2 separate regions of the Homo sapiens genome follow, and region 2 is linked to region 1. The links are contacts of gene promoters, found by promoter capture Hi-C in blood cells and fetal thymus (Javierre and others, 2016). All regions are on one chromosome and are shown on one strand. The core of a region is centred on a gene start or on the middle of the fragment in contact, and the rest is flanking DNA. Distances in the headings are between cores, read along the strand shown.

Region 1 (4,103 bases), core at 716-3,215:
CCCAGGAGGCGTAGGTTGCAGTGAGCTGAGATCGCACCACCGCACTCCAGCCTGGGCAACAGAGTGAGACTCCGTCTAAAAAAAAAAGTACAAAAATTAGCCGGAGCGGTGGCATGCGCCTGTAATCCCAGTTACTTGGGAGGCTGAAATGGGAGAATCGATTGAACTCGGAAAGTGGAGTTTGCAGTGAGCGGACATCGCGCCACTGCACTCCAGCCTGGGCGACAGAGTGAGACTTCATCTCGAAAAATTAAAAAAAGAATATGCAACAATATAAGCTACAAAATTTAAATATCCAATAAATTTTAAGTTTAAATAAATTTGCTGTATCAGAGGACAAAAAGAAACATAAAATAGTTACTGTTTGTCACACATACTGTTTAATCCTACTAATTGGTACTGTTAAGTAGTCCTATTGTGGTTTTGTTCAAATAGCATTTATGCAACAGTACAGTTAATAATATAGAACTATATAATTTCTTTTTTTTTTTTTTTTCAGACAGAGTCTCGCTCTGTCGCCCAGGCTGGAGTGCAGTGGCGCGATCTCGGCTCACTGCAAGCTCCGCCTCCCAGGTTCAGGCCATTCTCCTGCCTCAGCCTCCCGAGTAGCTGGGACTACAGGCGCCTGCAACCACGCCCGGCTAATTTTTTGTATTTTTAGTAGAGACGGGGTTTCACTGTGTTAGCCAGGACGGTCTCGATCTCCTGAACTCGTGATCCGCCCGCCTCGGCCTCCCAAAGTGCTGGAATTACAGGGGTGAGCCACCGCGCCCGGCCTAGAAGTATATAATTTCAAGTAAACACCAGTTTTTCATTTTTTATGTTAAAGTGGTAATTTCTTTTTTTTTTTTTTTTTTTTTTTGGAGACAGAGTCTCGCTCTGTCGCCCAGGCTGGAGGGCAGTGGCACAATCTCCGCTCACTGCAAGCTCTGCCTCTCCAGTTCGCGCCATTCTGCCTCAGGCTCCGGAGTAGCTGGGACTACAGGCGCCCGCCACCACGCCCGGAGAATTTTTTTTTTTTTTTTGTATTTTTAGTGGAGACGGGGTTTCACCGCGTTAGCCAGGATGGTCTCGATCTCCTGACCTCGGCCTCCCAAAGTGCTGGGATTACAGGCGTGAGCCACCGCGCCCGGCCTAAAGTGGTTTTTGTAATTCATTTTTCTTTTTTTTTTTTTTGAGACAGTCTTGCTCTGTTGGCCAGGCTGAAGTGCAGTGGAGCAATCTTGGCTCACTGCAACCTCCGTCTCCCGGGCTCAAGCAATTCTCCTGCCTCATCCTCCCGAGTAGCTGGGATTACAGGCATGTGCCACCACGCCCGGCTAATTTTTGTATTTTTAGTAGAGACGTGGTTTCACCATGTTGGGTCTTGAACTCCTGATCTCAGGTGATCCACCCGCCTCGCCTCCCAAAGTGTTGGGATTACAGGCGTGAGCCACCGCGCCCGGCTAGTATTTGTAATTCTTATCTATCACATTAAGGCTCTTGTCCGGTGTGGTTGTGTTCCGGGGCGGTCCCCGACCCCGCCCCTCACAAGCCCCGCCCCCCGCACCGGGCCCCGCCTCCTGAACTCCGAAGCTCCCGACCCCGCCTCCGCAGGGTCCAGGCTTCGCCCCTGGTGACAGGTGGTGCTGGTGTAGTCAAGGAGGAGGGCTCGCTTTTTTTGGTTCAGGTTGTCATGGTGGCGCCCAAGCCCGCCTTGCCGGCCTTGTCTTTTCCGGTCTCAGTCCGGCGTGGCAGCGGAGGCAGGCACCGTTAGGTCTTCCAGTCCCTCTCTGTCATGGCGACGCCCAGCCTCTTCTTCCGGCCACAGCCTGTCATGGCGGCACCCGAAGTAGTCCCTGCCGGGGCCAGCCTGTTCTGTTGCCCTGGCTCTTCCTAGTCCAGGCTGCCATGGCGGCGCTCAGGGCTTACCGGAAGTAAAACTTCGGAAGTGAGGCGTTCCTCTGCCCGGAAGTGAGCGCGGCGCTAGGAAAGATGGCGGCAGCGGCGGCGGTGGGCAACGCGGTGCCCTGCGGGGCCCGGCCTTGCGGGGTCCGGCCTGACGGGCAGCCCAAGCCCGGGCCGCAGCCGCGCGCGCTCCTTGCCGCCGGGCCGGCGCTCATAGCGAACGGTGACGAGCTGGTGGCTGCCGTGTGGCCGTACCGGCGGTTGGCGCTGTTGCGGCGCCTCACGGTGCTGCCATTCGCCGGGCTGCTTTACCCGGCCTGGTTGGGTGCCGCAGCCGCTGGCTGCTGGGGCTGGGGCAGCAGTTGGGTGCAGATCCCCGAAGCTGCGCTGCTCGTGCTTGCCACCATCTGCCTCGCGCACGCGCTCACTGTCCTCTCGGGGCATTGGTCTGTGCACGCGCATTGCGCGCTCACCTGCACCCCGGTAAGTGTGTACACGCGAGCCCGACCCCCAGCACGGTCGAGCCTCGCCGTGGGTCCCAGCTGCGGCCTTCCTGTCGGTCACCATCGCGACCTGGGCCACTCATCTGCCTGGCCTGGATTCCCAGGGGCACCCTCTACACTTTGGCGCAGGCTTAATCATGACCCCACTGCTGACTTGCTGTGCATGCCTGGTGCGGGTTATTTCCTTTTTCTGAAGTCCTCCCTGTTATGGTCATTTAGATTCAGTGATGTAATACTTGTAAAAGGCTTAGCGCAGGGCCCAGCATACGTCGCCCAGGTCAGGTAGGAGTTGTTTATACTAGTTCCCATATTAGCGACTACTCTTGTTCTGGAAACGGCCCTACCTTCCATCTCATCTGTCTCCTACCTTGGTTTTCAAAGTGTAAGGCGAGATCACTGGGATAGGTTTCCCCCATCTATGAAGCTTAGTTGGTTCTTAGACTGAACCAAGTCTTGCTGTCCAGTGCTTAGTGGTCTTCCATACTGTGATGGAAAGGAGCATGAAATGCAGTTAATTACAGTGTTGAAGAGAGGCAGAGGTGTTTATGAGCGAGTCATTTACATGATGTCTTTCCGCAAAATGAGGGTGGTGATACTGAGTTCTGTCGGGGATACAACAGCAAGCAAGGTCGCGCTCCTGACCCACAGTTTAGAGTTCTGAGTGACCAAGTGTCGTCGGAGGAGTTGGTGACTGTGAGCTTCCCTGGGCCTGAAGCAGTGACTGTGTCGTCTCTCTCTGGGCCTGCCTCAGGTGACACCAGCAGGTTTGGAGCCATGGACACTGAGGTATATCAGGAAGCTTCCCCTCTGATTCCAGGAGTGTGTTTGCCTCAAGAAGAGGAAAAGGGAACAGCATCAAGGGCTACAGAAAGACAGAAGCCCCCCACCCTGGCTGGCTCTGAATGTGGGTAGAATCCTCATTCTCCTCTCCTGAGAGACAACCTGTTCTGTCCTTCAAAAAGACTTATCTATCCCAGGGGAGGAGCTCAACGTGGTAGCTTTGAGGTAGTACAATGAAAGACACCAATGAGGGACAAAATAAAGGAGGGGTTAAGGGGACTGTGGCACCGCTCAAACTTCAGCTGCCTTTTGACCTGCAGCTAAGCAGCTTAGCTCTTAACTTCCTCTCCAGGGATGGAGAAGTGGGAGGAGCTGAACAGCCATCAGCCAGGAGAGGTGGATCTGGGTTTGATTCAGATCTCAGAAAGGGCCGCTTCTGCTCTCTGAGTTTCAGTTTCCCCCTTCTGTAAACTGAGAACCGTAACTAACAACTACTGGGTGCCATCTTGAGAAGCGGAGATGATATCTGCAGAGTGCCCGCCCTGGGGCCATCACAGCGTATAGCCTCTTGTACCTTTCTTCCGTGACGTCACGTTTGTAGTTATGTGATTGTTGTTATTTGCTGCCTGCTTTGGAGGCCCATGAACCACCCGTGCGGTGGCGCTTTGTTTCTGCGGGTCATCATTGTGCTCCCCCCATCTCCATGCAGCTCGTCTCCATGCAGCTCGGTCTAGCAGAGCAGCAGAGGAATGGATGGCGGTTCACGGGGTCCAGGGAGCACTGAACGAGTTCCATTCAACATTTCTGTGTCTTAGGTGCTGGGGAAACAGCAGTGAACAAAACAGGCAAATCCCCCTGCCTTTGTGGTGTTACTGGGAGGGAGAACTCATAGTCAGCAGTTGATGCCAAACAGAGATGACATCTAACATCAGG
Region 2 (4,103 bases), core at 1-2,500, 1.1 Mb before region 1:
CGTGCCTGATTGGACGGTTTCCAGCCCAGCGCCTCTGATTGGCTAATGCTTAAGGTCCCGCCCCCTCAGACACTGAGTGACAGAAGATGTGATCAGCTGCTGGGCGGAGTGAAGAAAAGAGTGACAGCCTAAGCTGCAGCCTTTTCAGGCAGGGCTTCCTCCCAGAGCTGAGCCTGGTCCATGCCAGAGCATGGGAACATTTTATCTCTTTTTTACTCTCTGTCTTGTTGAATGTATTCAAAGGTGAACAGAAGTATTTTGCTGTCATATTAATAATACATAAAATTTTTGTTCAAGAGAAAATCAGCTTTTACTTTGGTAATAGTGTATTAACGATTAAAGCTAATTTTAATAAAACCTTATAAATAAATCAAATTTGTCATTTTTGACCACTCCAGATTTACATATATATTTTGTAATCCCTGTAATTTTTTTATCTATTTATATTTTATTTTTATCCACATTCTTCTTATTTTTTCAACTTGAAACAACCTTTAAGTAATTTCAAACTGCTATAAGAGATAGAAATAATTTAGGGTCAGGCACAGGTAGCTCATGCCAGTAATCCCAACACTTTGGGAGGCCAAGGTGGGTGGATCACTTGAGGTCAGGAGTTCAAGACTAGCCTGGCCAACATGGTGAAACCCCATCTCTACTCACAATGTAAAAAATTAGCTGGGTATGGTGGTGCACATCTGTGGTCCCAGCTACTCCGGAGGCTGAGGCAGGAGAATCACTTGAACCCAGGAGGTGGAGGTTATGTAACAGCCCAAGGGGTTCATTTTGCCCTTTGCCTAGACAGAGCCAATTCATGAAGACAGGAGAATTTATGGAGGAAAAGTTAAATGTTAAATTTGAACTCAATTGAACGTGGACACAATGGTCACCAAGTCCCAGAACAGGTCCTGGTTGTGAGCCCCTGAGGTGTTCATCCAGAGCTGTATCAAAGAAATGTCTATTTCATTCTATTACTATACATTAGTTGTTGAAAAACAATAGACAATCACAAAAACAACTTGACCCTTTTGTGTTCCGTGAGGCAAGTCCCAAATGGCCCTCCTCACTGGGCCTTATGCCAAACAACTCGTTACAAAAGAGCTAGGGTCCCAGACCACCCTGAAGCTTCATGAGACTCCTTGTCTGTGCATGAATGGGTGGCCGACTCTGGAGCCTGGGCTGTTTCTTCCTACTCAGTTGGTAATCCTCCATAGTCTAGTGAGGGTAAATATATATATATATCTTTTCCCATCTCCTCTTCTTACTGCAATTTGCTTATTATATCAATCTGTGTATTATATTTATTTGCTTATTATATCATTTGCTTATTATATCATTAGTTTATTCTGTCTGCATTGATATTGATGTGGGTTAAAGCTTGTTTACCATTAAAGTTATTGTATGTATGTCTTTTCTTCTCCTCTCCCACGTTTCCCATACAGAACATTTTTGGCATCACAAACAGGATTTGAAAACAAAAGTGGGCCCCTTTTTGACCAGAAGGATAGGGCTGGAGGCTCAAGGATTTCCCATATCCTGAGATGGGATCACTCCCAGTTCTCCTTCTTTGTGATTGAATGGTTCAGGGGAACTGGCCTTTGTGGGAATTGGGAATCTAAATTAGTGCAATTTAAACCTTTGACTGTGCGTGAAGTGCTGCAGGGGATTCCAGTCACCAAAGGAGATGCTGAGGGAATCTCACAAAGTGGATAGTGTTTGATTGCTGCTTATAAGTTAATGTGTCAAGATAGGGGCTGGTTGCTACAAGAGAAATATAAGCTGGAAAAGGAAAATGCTAATCTGACTTCCGGACTGGCCCTGGCCCAATGCCAGTCAATGTCTTGACTGATCAGGCTCAAAGCTATCAGCCTATTGCTGAAAAAAGCAGCTGTCCAGGTGGCCCAATCAGGGTAAAACTGAAGAACTAGTCAGCCGGGGCTTAGAGCATGTAAAAACCCAGTTCCTATCTCAAAAATGGGAAATTAAGCCTAGTAAAATTAAGGATCCGCACAAAGTGTAAAATTCTTTGGCATCCTATGGAATGCAAAGAAACAGTCCACTTCACCAAAGGCTAAGGCTAAAATACTATAATTTGCAACCCCTACCACTAAGAAGGAGGCCCAGAAATGTATTGACTTGTTTGGATTCTGAACACATCATATTCCTTACTTGGGTAACATTTTACAACATCTGAATGCAGCCACTAGAAAAAGGTATGACTCTCACTGTGGAGAGAAAGACAGCATGGCTTTTGAACAAGCTAAACAAGCAGTGCAACTGGCCCTGGATCTATGGCCTATATGGGATGGGCCTGATGAACTGCGAGTAACTGTCGTAGATCAACATGCTAATTGGAGCCTTAGGCAGAAACAAGATGGAAAGAGGGTACTTTTCATGTTTTGGACCCAGAAACTGCCAGAGGCTGGAAAAGCTTATTCCTCTTTTGAGAAGCAATTGTTAGCTTGCTATTGAGCTTTGCTGGAAATGGAACACCTCTGCTTCAACCACGATGTCTTTATGAGGCCTGAAATTTCTATTATGACTTTGGTCATGAGTTCCCCCAAAACCCACCAGATAGGGCATGCCCAGAAAGTAGCATCATAAAATGGAAATGGGACATACAAAACCAGGCTAAGCCAAAATCATAGGGGCTATCACTTTTACATGAGGATGTGGAAAACCTGCGAGCTCAGGAAACAACCAAGCAAGTCCTGCAGATAGGGAAAGAAACACCCCCCACACACACACATCAAATGGGGCAAATCCTTTAAAGAACTAAGCCCAGAGGATCAGAAACATGCTTGGTTTACTGATGGATCCACCAAATACTTTGGTGGGACCCAATGCTGGAGGGCTGTGGCTTATAATCCTGTTAAAAACATAAGCATTTCTGATGAAGGAAGGGGTGGGAGCAGCCAGTTAGCTGAACTAGTAGTCGTTTCTCCGAGCTATTCAGGAGGAGGCCAGAGGGATTTGTTACTTTTATATCAACTCTTTGTCAGTAGCAAATGGTCTTACTACCTGGGTGCCCAAGTGGCAATGAAACAAATGGTTAATGCGGAATAAAGAGGTTTGGGGAAAACAATATTGGTAAGGTATCTGAATCCTGGTGCATACTCCCATCGTCACTGTGTTCCATGTTTTTTTGTTGTTGTTTTTTGTTTTTGAGATGGAATCCAGCCCTGTCACCAAATTGAAGTGCAGTGGTGCAATCTCAGCTCACTGCCACCTCCATCTCCACGGTTCAAGTGATTCTTCTGGCCTCTGCCTCCCAAGTAGCTTGGATTACAGGCACAGGCTGCCACGCCCAGCTAATTTTGTATTATTTTTTATTTATTCATTTTTTAGATGCAGTCTCACTCTTTCATTAGGCTGGAGTGCAGTGGCACAATCTGGGTTCACCACAACCTTCATGTCCCAGGTTCAAGCAATTCTCCTGCCTCAGCCTCCCGAGTAGCTGGGACTACAGGCACACACCACCATACCCAGCTAATTTTTGTATTTTTAGTAGAGATGAGGTTTCACCATGTTAAACAGGATGGTCTCCATCTCTTGACCTCCTGATCAGCAGGCCTTGGCCTCCCAAAGTGCTGGGATTAGAGGTATGAGCCACCATGCTCAGTTTATTTTTGTAATTTTAGAGACGGGGTTTTGCCATGTTGGCCAGGATGGTCCCAATCTCTTGACCTTGTGATCTGCCCACCTCAGCCTCCCAAAATGCTGGGATTACAGGTGTGAGTCACTGTGCCTGGCCCTGTTTTCCATGTTGATGCTAGTGTGTCTCTGCTTCCTCTTGACAGACTATTTAATCAGCAGGAAGATCAACAGGCAAAAATTTCCACCATAACTGTGATCTTGAATGTGGGTAAATGGATTACAACATGTTCAAGCCTTGCAATGAGAAGCATAATAATGTATGGTGGAATAATTGATAGTGATTACCGGGGAGAGTTAAAGGACATTTTATACAATACCTCTCCAGATTCTTTTGCTATAAAACCACAGATGCTGGTTGCTCAATTGTTAGTGGTACCTTGTCCACAATTAACCCCTGAGGAAATCTTTGCCCAACAGAGGCTACATACAGAACTTGGGGATTCAGATCC

What was found. Contacts are between HindIII fragments. The CHiCAGO score rates a contact against its expected background, and 5 or more counts as called.
Region 2: a contact is called between a fragment that was not itself captured here and the fragment with the promoter of ATP13A1 in region 1, in 1 of 17 cell types (non-activated CD4 T cells). The highest score is 5.4, in non-activated CD4 T cells.

The regions. Positions count from the first base shown.
Region 1 is chr19:19,661,538-19,665,640 of GRCh38, reverse strand. ATP13A1 (ATPase 13A1) reads left to right here and starts at 1,965. Exons shown (of 26, transcript NM_020410.3): 1 at 1,965-2,370. The coding sequence starts at 1,975. RefSeq lists silencers at 1,479-1,528, 1,969-2,228 and enhancers at 1,629-1,918, 2,262-2,363, 1,635-2,617, 2,749-2,798, 3,499-3,978 and 1 more. The HindIII fragment of the contact is 4,289 bases long and covers 1-2,816 here.
Region 2 is chr19:20,772,157-20,776,259 of GRCh38, reverse strand. No RefSeq gene overlaps it. Among named protein-coding and RNA genes, the nearest start is that of ZNF66, 2.1 kb to the left of the region's middle. The HindIII fragment of the contact is 252 bases long and covers 1,125-1,376 here.